3 separate regions of the Homo sapiens genome follow, and all the other regions are linked to region 3. The links are contacts of gene promoters, found by promoter capture Hi-C in blood cells and fetal thymus (Javierre and others, 2016). All regions are on one chromosome and are shown on one strand. The core of a region is centred on a gene start or on the middle of the fragment in contact, and the rest is flanking DNA. Distances in the headings are between cores, read along the strand shown. Region 1 has its middle 25 kb from the start of OLIG2. Region 2 overlaps IFNAR1 (interferon alpha and beta receptor subunit 1). Region 3 holds the start of LINC01548 (long intergenic non-protein coding RNA 1548).

Region 1 (4,302 bases), core at 1,446-3,945, 170 kb before region 3:
AAAGTTTATTTTTCTCTACAGAACGTCATTATTTGGTTGGTTGGTTTGCTTCATCAATGAGGATGCTTAAAAACTAAGTGTAGCCCTTGCACCATTTTAGTTGAGAAAGAGTATGTTACAACGGAAAATGTAAAATTTTTCAAAATAGACAGACTTTAGTTCAAATCCTGGCCCTGAAAGTTAGCTGTTAATGTTGTAGAATGTTTATTAATCATTTTGTGCTCCAATTTTCTTAATAATAAAATAGGACTGTTAATATTCTCTACAGACTAATATCCCTCCTGAATATAGACATAAAAATTTAAATTCAATAATATGTAGAAAAGATAATACATCATAACCAAGTGGGGATTATGCCAGGAATGCAAGGTTGGTTTACATTTTGAAAAGACATAGATATAATTCATCATATTAACAGATTAGAAAGGAAAAACCATATGATCATCTTAATAAATGTAAAAAAGGCACTTGACAGAATGCAACATGCATTCCTGATAGAAACTCACAAACCCTAGGAATAGAAGGGACATTCCTCAATCTGATAAAGGAAATTTATTAATAAAACCAACAGTTTGTATCATATTTAACAACGAAGAATGAATACTTTCTCCCTAAGATTGGAAATCAAGCAAGAATATCTGTTTTCACCACTCCTAATCAATATTGTGGTAAAGATTCTACCCATGGGGAAAAGGCAAGGAAAAAAAAAGACATTCATATAGGAAAGGAAGAAATAAGTACTTCCTTTTGTGACTGGCTTATTCCTTAAAGATGATCATTGATGGAGAAAATCCTAAAGAATCTATTAAACAAGACTATTAGACCTAACAAGTGAACTTAGCAAGGTTGCAGGATACAAGGTCAATATTTTAAAAATCAATTGTATTTCTATATACAACGAATAGTTGGGAATTAATACCTTCTATGATATCATAAAAATGTTTAGGTATAAATCTGATGAAAGATGTGGAGGGTCTATACGCTGAAAACTATAAAACGCTTCTGAGAGAAACTAAAGAAGCCCTAAATAAATGGAGAAGTATACCATATTTATGGATCAGGAGACTCAGGATTAAGATGTAAGTTCTCCCCAAATTGATCTATAGATTCCACAAAATCCCAACAGTTTTTAAAAATAAAAATGGACAAGCCAATTCTCTCTCTCTCTGACACACACACACACACACACACACACACACACACTGCACACCACACACCACACACCACACACACACTCCCCTTTTCTATCCATCTATTGGGCCATATGCACAAAGAAAGACCTGGACTGTTCTATAGCAAATATTAACTCTGGTTATGCTGATGGTAGGATTTCAGATAATTTGCTGTTTTCCTCTTACATTTTTCTCTCTTGCTCAAATTTTGTAACTGAATATTTCTGATGTTAATAAATAATAAATCACTATTCCAAGAAATGCTCCTCTCACAGTTTGGCTGCTTTATCTTTGCCATAAATAATTGCTAATCAATCTTGAAAGGACAGATAAGTAAATACTGAATTGAAGAGTCTCAAAGGGAATCCTGCACAATATACTCTCAAAGTACTGTACAGGAGTCACTTCAACCTTAATCTCTTTCCTTACATGGAGTAATTTGGGATAGAATCAACCAGTGATTTCTCTTATTGAAGGATTAGGCCATGTTGTTAATAAAGTGGCCATCTAGACAATGAAAACGAAATAAGTATTCTCTCGTCAATTCCTAGGTAAGTGATTTCTGGTCATTTGAGAGTAAAAAATGCTCATCAATAGTTTTGTCACTTTATTTAAGCTGCCTTAAGAGTAAGGATTATGTTTGACCCAGAAAACCTTACCAGTGTGGTCGAGACCTCCAAGAGGGTTATTGTCCTCACATAGCAAGAAAGCACGAGGTAAGCAGTGTAGGGCTAGAGTGGTTGCTTGACCAGCCATGTCCACTGGGACTCAGACTGGCTTGCTCTTCCTGCTCTACTAATCTTAACTTGAGGCTTTCCTTCTCTAAAGTCGAAAAATGGCTGCTGCTGCTCTGTGTATGATGCCCGTATTGCAGGCAGGAAGAGAGAAAAGAACCACAAGGCTTTTCCTCTCAATCTTTTGTGTTTTTGTCTGGGAATAGATGCTACTCTTTGGATTTCTGCCAACATTACATTGGCTAGAATGGGTCACATGGCCACCCTTAACTGCAAGGGAGTCTGGGAAGTTGGACATTTTAATATGGCCACAATGGCACCACAAAAAAAAATAAGGTCTTTGTTAGAAAGGAAGAAAAAGGAATGGGATTTGGGTAGGCAATCAAGAGGTCGGCTACACTGTCTAAAATGTTGCCTGTATTTTATTTTTAGTTTAAAAGTACAAACAAAAATGCCCGGAAATAGAAGTTTGATGTGCGTTCTTGGAAGAATGGCATGAGGAGTGCCACACTGAAGTTAGAGCATAAGGCCATTTCCTATCAGTCCTTGGGCAAAATCTGAGCTTTATTTCCTCCACTTGATATGAGATTAATAATACATAACCAGTGTAAAACTCACATAATTATAAGTTCCACTGGATACATGAAGAGTATTATTGTTGAATATTCCTAAAGCTTCCCATGAGTCATGGAATAAAAAGTGAGACAACAAAAATTTAATTGTGCTTGTTTGGTTTTTTTTTTTTTTTTTAAATAAATTGGTTTTGTTTCTCAGCTCATTTCATAGACAATTTGAGGCAGCCAACAATGCCAATACATATAGTAAAAAATAAATGTAGATTTTTAAATGGAGTTAAAGAGTAAGAATCAATGTGAGCTAAAATAAGAATATAAGAATTTTTAGTCTAAGCTTTCTGGCCACCAAAGTATAAAGGGAATATAGAACAATTTACATAATAGTCATTATCAGAGAAAAACATATCTCACCAGTAGATGCAAGTTTTCTTTATTGTAAAACAAATGTTTACATACTTGAAATCCTGTCTTTCAAAGGTAATCCTGGCATTTAGTTCAGTGCCTGATGAAAAGAATGCCCTGGGTAAATATTTATTGGATGGATAGATCCAAGATCTCTCTTCTAGCTACTTTGAAATATATGACTATTGTCACCCTACTCTGCTATTGAACATTAGAATTTATACCTTCTCTCTAACTACATGTTTTTACCCATTGTCCAACCCATGCATAGCTGGATAGATGGAAATGGAATAAAACTCTGCTACATATATTATGTGATTTCTCCTTATTAAAAATTACCATTTTTTGGAGAACAGGGACAGCTTTCTATTGAATGCTATAAACTCTCTCTCCAGAAAAGTGAATATATACACAGAAGTCTGCATATCATATAAAGGGGCTGAGAGATTCCCTGAAACTCATCCACAGATCACCTTGGGGGCTAATAGGTTTCAGCTGAGCAACCGTTTTTCATCAGCAGTGCAGGAGACAGTATAATGTAGCAAATAAAATACCATCCGAGGCATCAGACAGACTTGTCCGAATCCACTTGCTGTCTGGGTGAGAAAAAGAAAAGTTATATAACCTTTCTGAGCTTCAGTTTTCATAACTGTAAAATGTAGATAAAATGCCTACCTCATAGACTTGTTGGGAAAATGAAATGGCATAGTATATTTCTAGCACTTAGCATAGCACTTGGTACATACAAAGCCCTCAATAAATTAATCCCAAAAAATAACTCCCATTTACTGAGTACTTCTATAGGGCAGCACCTTGATGTCATTCCATCTTTATCTCAACCCTGCAAATTTGATCATCACATCATTACTCCAGTTTTATAGATGAAGCTGAATCACAAAAGTTCTGAAATTTACCAAAGCTCACACAGCCAGAAAATTACAGAAACAGAAGATGAGCCCAGGTCTTTCAGTACCAAGAATGCTAATATCAGGTTCTGTCTGTTTTTCCAGCCATTTTCCTCCACTTGTCTTCTGGTAGCTCATATCTATGACTCCACAAAGGACAGGGAAGAAGAGAAGCATCACACAGGCCGGAAAAATTTAATACCTACTGCCAGACCTCTAGTCACTGGTCTGGACTTATGGCCAAGGAGTGGCTGACACCTTGAGATACACATCTTATATCCTCAGCTGTCATTGGTTTAGTGGGGAGGCTCTTAGTCTGGCTAAACACAGGGAAAGCTGCAGCTACCTCTCCCATTAAAATAATTTGAAATCTCTTTATTTATTTATTTTTTTTGAGAAAGAGTCTCACTCTGTTGCCCAGGCTGGAGTGCAGTGGCACAATCTCAGCTCACTGCAACCTCCGCCTCCTGGGTTCAAGTGATTCTCCTGCCTCAGCCTCCTGCGTAGCTGGGAC
Region 2 (4,473 bases), core at 1,756-4,255, 180 kb after region 3:
TCTTTCAAATGGCTGCATAGTATTACATAGTGTGAATACAAACCATATTTAACTATTACCTTATAATGATAAAATGCGAGCCTTTATCTTCTTGCCAGTTATCTCACTTGAGTAAAAATGTGTGCTTTTTTTTATCTGTTCTTTGGCTTCTAGTTGAAAATGAACTACCTCCACCAGAAAATATAGAAGTCAGTGTCCAAAATCAGAACTATGTTCTTAAATGGGATTATACATATGCAAACATGACCTTTCAAGTTCAGTGGCTCCAGTAAGTTCCATTCCATAAATTTCCTTTTGCCCAGTTTGTTTTGATTATGCTTCTTTTCGCTCTGCATCAGTCACCAGGTCCTTGCACACAGAATGACCGACTGGGAGGTGGGTACGATATATTGGAAACGTGAGAAATCTCATTTCTAACCCCAGTTCTGCCAGTAACTAACTGGATGACATTGAGCTAATCGCTTAACCTCCATGGGCCTCAATTTCTTCACTTGTAAAATAGATGGATTCTAATATCTGGGGTTCTTACTGGCTTAAGAAAAAAAAGAAAGTGTAACTAGTTGCATGTGTTATTTCCCCAATCTGGAAGACTCGACAGTTGACCCTGATCTTTTTCTAAGAACTCACTTCTTCCATGAGTCCTTAAAATGATCTCAGTCCACTCACTTGTTCAATTCAAAAAATTAGCCTTCCTATTTTCTTTATTACTTTAGTGGTTTTGACAAAATTTTGTAGTAGATACTTCGGTGGGAAAGAAAGTTGGAAAGAACTATGTTCTATGTGGTTGAGCAGAGGCTAGCTAAACATGGATGAAGTCCAGGCGCTGCATAAATGAAAGAGAACTGGCCTGGTGCAGTGGCGCATGCCTATCGTCCCAGCTACTCAGTGGGCTGAGGCAGGAGGATTACTTGAGGCCAGGAATTGAGGCTGCAGTGTTGTATGATCACACCTGCTAGTAGCCGCTGCACTGCAGCCTGGGCAACATAGTGAGACCCCCATCTCTAAGCATTAAAATTTTTAAAAAGCTGATAAAAGAGAACTGCATGTAGTTTATATTGATTGGAAAATTGTAGGAGATGAATAGAGAAAAGAGAAGAGGAAAATTAAGTAGAAGGAAAAATGGGTTATGGGGAGAAAAGAGATGGAAAGAAAGATATACATTGGTGGCAGAGGAGTAGAGAGAGCAAAGGCAAGTATAGCTAAGACAGGAAAGGAAAAGTCAGAAGAAACTGGAAAGAAACAGAAAAAATGAGGGAGAAGGGAAGTGTAAGTACCGCTATGATCAATTTCTATCTTTTAGTGTTAATTTTGAACCAAGGGTGACTGGTAGAATGCAAATGCATTTATGTGCATATGTGCCCCACAATGCATATATAACCTCACAAACCAATCAGGAAACTGTTCAGTAGTCTTTTGTGTATACCTCACTTTCAGAAGTGAATAAATAATAGGGTCACCAAATAGATAATGAGAGGTATTTCTGATAGCTGATCTCTAAGCTTCTTTTGGGTACTTACCATATTGTACAAAGCACTGAAGAAATGGAAAGAGTCAGCAGAATCAAACGTGGTTCAAAAATTGAAAGCAGTTAGCCAACATTGCAAAGTGTTGTGTGGTTTAGGACTAAAGAGTGGTATACAAATTATAAGGGTTGCAGAAATTGAAAATGTAAAGGTGAATAGGGGCTAAAGAGACCAAAGAAGCCATAAGGAAAGAGATAAGGTATGAACAAGGCCTTGATTGTTAATTCAGATTTTTTTTAAGTAGACAACTATTAGATGTTAGTTTTCTGTGTCTGTAACTAATTACCACAGACTTAGCAACTTAAACAGCTGTTTATTGTCTCAAAGTTTCTGTGAGTCAGGAGTCCAAGCGTGGCTTAGCTGGCTCTTCTGCTAAGCAGTCAAGGAGTCAGTCATTCATACAAGACTTGGGGGCCGCTCCCAAGCTCACATGTTGTTGGCAGAATTTATTTCTAGAGCTCATGGTGGCTCACTTCTTAGAGGCCATCAGGAAGGGAGAGTCTGACCTCTAGATCCTTTTTTTTTTTTTTTTGAGACGGAGTCTCACTCTGTCACCCAGACTGGAGTGCAGTGACATGATCTCAGCTCACTGCAACCTCCGCGTCCTGGGTTCAAGTGATTCTTCTGCCTCAGCCTCCCAAGTAGCTGGGACTACAGGTGTGCACCACCACACCCAGCTAATTTTTGTAGTTTTAGTAGAAACGGGGTTTCACCGTATTGGCCAGGCTGGTCTCGAACTCCTGACTTCAGGTGATCCACCCGCCTCAGCCTCCCAAAGTTCTGGGATTATAGGCGTGAGGCACCGCGCTCAGCCATTTTTTTTGTATTTTTAGTAGAGACGGAGTTTCTCCATGTTTGCCAGGCTGTTCGCAAACTCCTGGCCCCAAGTGATCTGCCCACCTCAGCCTCCCAAAGTGCTGGGATTAGAGGCATGAGCCACCATGCCTGGCCTAGATCCTCTTTTAAGGGGTTCATCTGATTAGGTCAGGCCCACCCAGAATAGTCTCTCATTTGATTCAACTGATTTGGGACCTTAATTACATCTGTGAAATACCTTCTCTTCTGCCACTTAATGTAACCTAATTATGAGAGGAGGGCCTCCATCGTATTTACAGGTCCTGCCCATGCTCAAGAGGAGGGGATTATACAGGATGTGTACACCAGGGGGCAGGAATCTTGGGGGCCATCTCAGAATTTTGCCTTCTCCAGTGGGGAGGATGTCCTTCTAGAGTAGCAGAACATTTGGACACCAGGTGGCAATGGGAAGAAAGCTGAATAAGTAGAATGGGACAAGATTAGGGTCAACCTCAGGCTGTCCTGTAGGCTTTTGGGGATTTTGTGTTGGGGTGATAGTTAACCTGAGCTCTGGATTTGAGGAAGGTGCATGCGGCGACATGGTATGTGGGAGAGTGGACTAAGGAGACACTAAAGAGAGATAAGGAAACCAGTCAGGAGGCTATTAGAGTTCTGGGCTTGAACTGAGATGCTTTTAGCTGTTGGTTTCTGGGCAAGTTACTTAACCTCTTTAGTCTCGTACTTATACTTGCTCTTATAACCCCGCAGTGTGTCTCTATTTTAGCACTTAATCAGTGTCCATTGGTATGCTGGCGCATGTTTAGCAGCTGGCTTTCCAGAAAGAAAAAGTCCTATTTTGTAGTGTTTGCTGATTTTTATGATATAAATATTCCCACCATGGCCACTTTCAAGCCACCAGCCTGATGTCCCTGAATATGGAGTTGGGAACATATGCACAGTAGCACACCACTATCATATAGCTACAATAGATAAAGATAGCCCCAAGAGCTTAGAAAATAAAATGTAGTAAAATAATTAGGACAAGATGAATTTATTTATTACCTCTGTCTTTAAAACAATTTTTTATTTGCAAATTTATATAACTTAATTTTTAGTAATGGTTTTTCTTTAAAAACCAGTTTGTATTTTAGGAGGCCGAGGTAGGTGGATCACCTGAGGTCAGGAGTTCAAGACCAGCCTGGCCAACATGACGAAACCCCATCTCTACTAAAAATACAAAAATTAGGCAGGCCTGGTGGCGTGCACCTGTAATCCCAGCTACTCAGGGGGACAGAGGCAGGAGAATTGCTTGAACCCAGGAGGCAGAGGTTGCAGTGAGCCAAGATCCTACCACTCCACTCCAGCCTGGGTGACAGAGCGAGACTCGGTCTCAAAAAAAAAGCCAAAAAAAATAAACCAGCTTGCAGCATTCCTGGAAATTCTAACTAACAGATGTTCTTGCATATTGATATGAGCCACCTCCAGCAGAGCACAACATGACCACAGTCTGGAACAGTCTTTGGTTTTCTTTTATGTTAGATGCATATCTCTTCCATTGTTTGTGAGTTTCCTGAGTGTGGATACTATTTATTTCTGTAACCTTAGCCCCTAACATAGTGTCTGGCAATTGTAAATACTTAATAAATATCTAATGAATTTAAAAAATATTTGTCTTAAAAGCGCCTTTTTAAAAAGGAATCCTGGAAACCATTTGTATAAATGGAAACAAATACCTGACTGTGAAAATGTCAAAACTACCCAGTGTGTCTTTCCTCAAAACGTTTTCCAAAAAGGAATTTACCTTCTCCGCGTACAAGCATCTGATGGAAATAACACATCTTTTTGGTCTGAAGAGATAAAGTTTGATACTGAAATACAAGGTAAGGCAGTAGTTTTTACTGGAGATTGTAATTCTCTGGTGCAAGTTTTTAAAATTGTTTTTCTAATTGAACATTATTTCTTTACAAATTTTTTCTAGCTTTCCTACTTCCTCCAGTCTTTAACATTAGATCCCTTAGTGATTCATTCCATATCTATATCGGTGCTCCAAAACAGTCTGGAAACACGCCTGTGATCCAGGATTATCCACTGATTTATGAAATTATTTTTTGGGAAAACACTTCAAATGCTGAGGTAAAAAGACTGTATAGTATAA
Region 3 (4,484 bases), core at 623-3,122:
CATTTAATACAGACCATCCTGGCTAAAATGTGTCAATGGATTACAACAGAACAAGATTAGAGGCAAATCAACTAGGTACCTGCTGTGAGCAGTCCAGATGAGAGGTGGTGCAGCTGTGACTTAGGGAAGTGGTGCTGGATGGGAAGGAAGAGACTTGGGGAGTGTTCCAAGGGTGTCCGCGCTTGAGCTCCCCACAGAAGCAGGACCTGTGACAAGGGCTGATGTGCAGGCTGTTTAGGAATTGATGCCAAGTAACAGCAATGGGGGCTGGGAGGAGTGAAAGAGGGAGGTGGGCTTGGTGTGGTGGCTCACACCTGTAATCCCAGCACTTTGAGAGGCTAAGGCAGGAGAATCGCCTGAGGCCAGGAGGCCAAGACCAGCCTGGGCAACACAGGGAGACCGCATCTCAACAAAAAGTTTTAAAAATTAAAAATTTTAAAAATAGTGGGAGGAGAAAGAAGCATCCCAGTGTGGTGTTATTGGCCTGGTTACCTCCATGGGCTGCTGGGACTGGATCCCCTGGAGACCCCCTGAGGAAGCGTGTGAAAGATGCCTCAGAATTGTCCACCCAAGACATGGATGGAAGACAGATGAGCTCATCAGCTCCTGCCCCTATTGGTCAAAGTTTTCCCCCAAGGAAAGCCACCTCCCTTGAGCTTCCAAGTTTACACACAAGCCAGTATAGCTAAGCAAGTCCCCGCAGGCTTGGACAGAAAGCCTGCCACAGCAGATACCCACTGCCACAGCTGTCAGGTGACAGCTTGTTGCGGTTGTCAGAGCAACGCCCAGGAGCAAAAAAGGCGAGCCAGGTCAGGCGCAGTGGCAAACTCCTGCAATCCCAGCAATTTGGGAAGCCAAGGCAGGAGGATTGTTTGAGGCCAGGAGTTCAAGACCAGCTTGGGCAAGAAAGAGACCCCTGTCTCTACAAAACATAAAAAATTAGCCAGGCATGGTGGTGCGTGCCTGTGGTCCCAGCTACTCAGGAGGCTGAGGCAGGAGGATAGCTTGAGCCCAGGAGGTCAAGGCTGCAGTGAGCCATGGTCGTGCCAGCACACCCTAGCCTGAGTGATAGAGCGAGACCCTGTCTCTAAAAACTTAAAGAAAAAAACGGTGAGCCAAGAGCATGTGAAAGGAGCGTGAAAGGAGCATGAAAGGGAGGTGGGCAGAAGAAGCTGGTTGGATAGAGGAAGTGAAAGGAAGAGGCGCATTTGTACAGACAGCCGCCCTTCTGGACCGAGTAACCACGTGGAGAGTGGTTCTCCATCCACCCACATAGGACGCACAAGGAAAAGAAGAGGTTCCCAAAGATAAGGGATTTCATGGGGAAAATACCTCATCGAATGGACTGCGACCCTCAAGGGAAGATGTTCCATAAGCTCGGCGCGAGTCAGGCAGTAGGGAGAGGTCTTGAGATCACAGGTGAAGTGAAGGCTCCCAGGAAGGGTGATTGCAGGGCGAGGGCCTCCTGACCTGGAGACAGGGCCCCAAGGAACAGTCATACGAAGAGGGCAGAGGACAAATGAAGAGGGAGTGGACAGAAAGAGAAATGGGAGGAGAGCCATGTGCCAGGAGCCAAGTGATTTAAATGCAGGTGTAGTGCCCTGGAGAGTTCCATGTGTAAGAACAAGTAAATCATTGTTGCTTACCTCTCCCTTGAAAAAAAAAAAATACCCTGCTTCTTGTCCTAAGTTCCCAGGCTCTCTTTTTGCCTACTCCCTCCCCAGTTGCTGAGTCCAGTCAACCCTCCTGCTACAGTATCCCCTATAGCGCCATTCACCTGCCCTCCTCTGCTCCCTTGGCCAACATCTAGGTTCAGAACCTCATTGTCTCTCTTCTGGTCTGTCCTGCCTCCTCCTCCCTCTGCTGCTGTCCATCCAGGTGGATTTTCCTAAAGGGAAAAGGTGCACTTGAGGGCAAATTTCTCTTGGCCATGCACTTAGGAGGGGGATTTCTGGGTAAAGGGGTAAGTTCACTGCTTTTCTAATTCTCTACTTTTTCCTTATCCTCACCCATAAATCTTACAACCCCCTTGAAGTGCAATAACTTTATTTCTAGGACCTCTCAGAGCCTTTGCCTGTGCTGTTCCCACTTGCCGGGAATGCCTTTCCCTTCATCCCCAATAGTTCAAGCCCCACCTTTTCCTGAGCCCAGCTCAGATGCCACCCCCTCATCCAGGAAGGCCTCCTTGATACCTCCCTACCAGAATTAATCTCTCCTTCTCTTGTGGTCTGAAGACTCTTGGCTTTCTCCCCTGTCCTATTTTTGCTTGTTATCACTGACATTGCTTTACACGCTTTTTCTCCTCTGCTGGGAGCAAGGGCAGTTTCTATGTCACAATGCCCCACTATGCCCATTAAGCTACAGTGCACATGGTACCCATCCCGAGACCAACATTCTTTTTACACTTCTGTGCTTCTGACCTAGGAAAGTCTTACTTTTCATAGAGTGTCATAGCTGAGTTGGAAGCTCTTTTCTTAGAGCCTCTTAAAATAATGGCGTGCCTTATAGTCAATGATCTCTTACATTCCATTAAATACAGTAGGAGATGTTCAACCAATATTTGCTAAATTGGAGGAGTTAAAGTCATTTTGAGTAGGAGAGGGAATCTAGACCCACTATTTGGATTAGTACAGATTTTAGTGCAACTCAGGGCTTCTGCAGAGCCCCTCCAGCTTTCACCTGTCCACTTAGTTGATGATGAGCACGCCTGCGAACTCTTCACACTTTCCAAACCCACCAAGGCAGCTTCTCCCGTAAGGACATGTTTCTTACCTTCAAGACCCCTGTTGCCTCCAGCAGCAATCTCAGTAATGACGTCTACTTCTGTTTCCTGCTTCCTTCTCCCTGACTCCTGCTTCCTGGAGTCCCCTCAGATAAACCTCCTGTGCCCAAGACCTTGTCAGGGTCTGCATTTACGGGAACCCAACTAAAATTCCAGGACCACCATATAAAGGTCCCTTTGTCGGGGGCTGGGCCTGCTCTGGATACGGTAGGGAAGTGGCTCCAGGGTCTGCGGCCAGCGAGGAGAGGGTCCGGCAGTCACCAGTGGGAGCTGTTTCCTCCCGTATTCCTCCCACCTGTCCCTACCTGTCCTGCTGGCGGGGTAAAGAGTGGGATTTACCTCGTGACAGCTGCCTTACAGCCCCATGAAAAGGCACTTTGGGCTGCGGTTGGGGGGAGCGCATCTCCAGGGATTGCAGGGTAGGAGGACAAGAACTCTCCCTGGCCTGGGAGTCAGGGAAATGGAGAGATCAGAGCAACACAAGTGCTGGGAACAGATGGGGCTTCCTGGGCTCCAGCGCTAATTAACCAGCTCTGCAGCTCAAGGCCTGGGCCTCATGATAGTAGTCTGAGGGCCCCTGGGGTGCAGGGTTGAGCACACAAGGCTGCACACAGGCAGAGGGAGAGGGGTGATCCCGGGAACAGCCATCCCTCCATTCCCTAATCCAGAGGCCGCTGCCCTTCTTGGGCCAGAGAGCAGCAGCTTCTAATACAGATCTGGGCTTCTCACTCAGCAGGTGCCAGGGACCCAAGGAGACAAATGGAGGAAAAAGAGTGAGGAACTCCTGCCCCAAGGAGGCCGCTGCCACCGCCCACTGGCCGCATGCCAACTGGACCCCAGATGATAAGCGTGAAACTCCCAGAGGTTGAGATTGGGAGACTCTCCTCCTCCCTGCCTTTCATCTTGTGTCCCCTCTCTTGTCCCTTCCTCACTTGCAAGAACAGAACTCATTTGATGTGTTTCCGCTACCAAATCAGAGCAGTGAGTGCAGAGTTGGGGAGGAAATTGAAGGGAAACAATTCAAACTGTTTCACTGGAGTTGCAGGCGCTGATAAAGGCATCTTCGTTAGTTAATGAGTTAATTTCTGATAAACCTTAGATACCTAAAATAGGCTACATATTATATGGCCTAAATTGATTCCTAATTAACACTTGAAATGTAATCACAATCAAGGTGGCTTTTTAAATTGTGGGCAAGAGAAAGAAATACATCTCAGACACAAAACAACCTGTACTTAACACTGCCATAAAGTGGATCAGGCTGTATTTATATTTATGTTTGTATTGAGGCTGATTTTTCTGATTCTCTCCCAGTTTGGGTGTTTTATCTCTGAATCCCCAGTGCATAGCACAGTCCTGGCTTGTAGTAGGAATTAGCAAATATCTGTTGAATACATAAACCCTCTTTTCAAAATACAGGACCAGAGCATAGAAACAGAATAGCTAATGTACACTCTTTTGTTGAATGGGGCAAGCACAGCCCAGGTAGCAAGTAAATAGTGACAAAATAATTCTGGAATTATCTCCCATCCACAAGCCAGGATCCAAAATAAATGTCCTTTGTTCTACATTGTTATTGTTTTTTAAAAGTCATTTTCTTTTATCTTCTAAGATACTTATGGATAGAATAATATAAAGTCTGGATTTGCTTCAAAATACCTTAGCAGACTGGGATTATAGATGAGACAAGACCAGCTGTGTG

Evidence for each region. Contacts are between HindIII fragments. The CHiCAGO score rates a contact against its expected background, and 5 or more counts as called.
Region 1: a contact is called between a fragment that was not itself captured here and the fragment with the promoter of LINC01548 in region 3, in 3 of 17 cell types (erythroblasts, megakaryocytes and M1 macrophages). The highest score is 5.8, in erythroblasts.
Region 2: a fragment that was not itself captured here is called in contact with the fragment with the promoter of LINC01548 in region 3 in 3 of 17 cell types (neutrophils, monocytes and non-activated CD4 T cells); the score reaches 8.8 in neutrophils.

The regions. Positions count from the first base shown.
Region 1 is chr21:32,998,417-33,002,718 of GRCh38, forward strand. No RefSeq gene overlaps it. Among named protein-coding and RNA genes, the nearest start is that of OLIG2, 25 kb to the right of the region's middle. The HindIII fragment of the contact is 235 bases long and covers 2,579-2,813 here.
Region 2 is chr21:33,345,093-33,349,565 of GRCh38, forward strand. It overlaps IFNAR1 (interferon alpha and beta receptor subunit 1), which reads left to right. Exons shown (of 11, transcript NM_000629.3): 6 at 154-268; 7 at 3,999-4,198; 8 at 4,297-4,451. Among named protein-coding and RNA genes, the nearest start is that of IFNAR1, 22 kb to the left of the region's middle. The HindIII fragment of the contact is 3,016 bases long and covers 1,498-4,473 here.
Region 3 is chr21:33,168,364-33,172,847 of GRCh38, forward strand. It overlaps LINC01548 (long intergenic non-protein coding RNA 1548), which reads right to left and starts at 1,873. Exons shown (of 4, transcript NR_024102.1): 1 at 1,778-1,873; 2 at 1,333-1,470; 3 at 80-218. RefSeq lists an enhancer at 1,085-1,154. The HindIII fragment of the contact is 7,514 bases long and covers 1-4,484 here.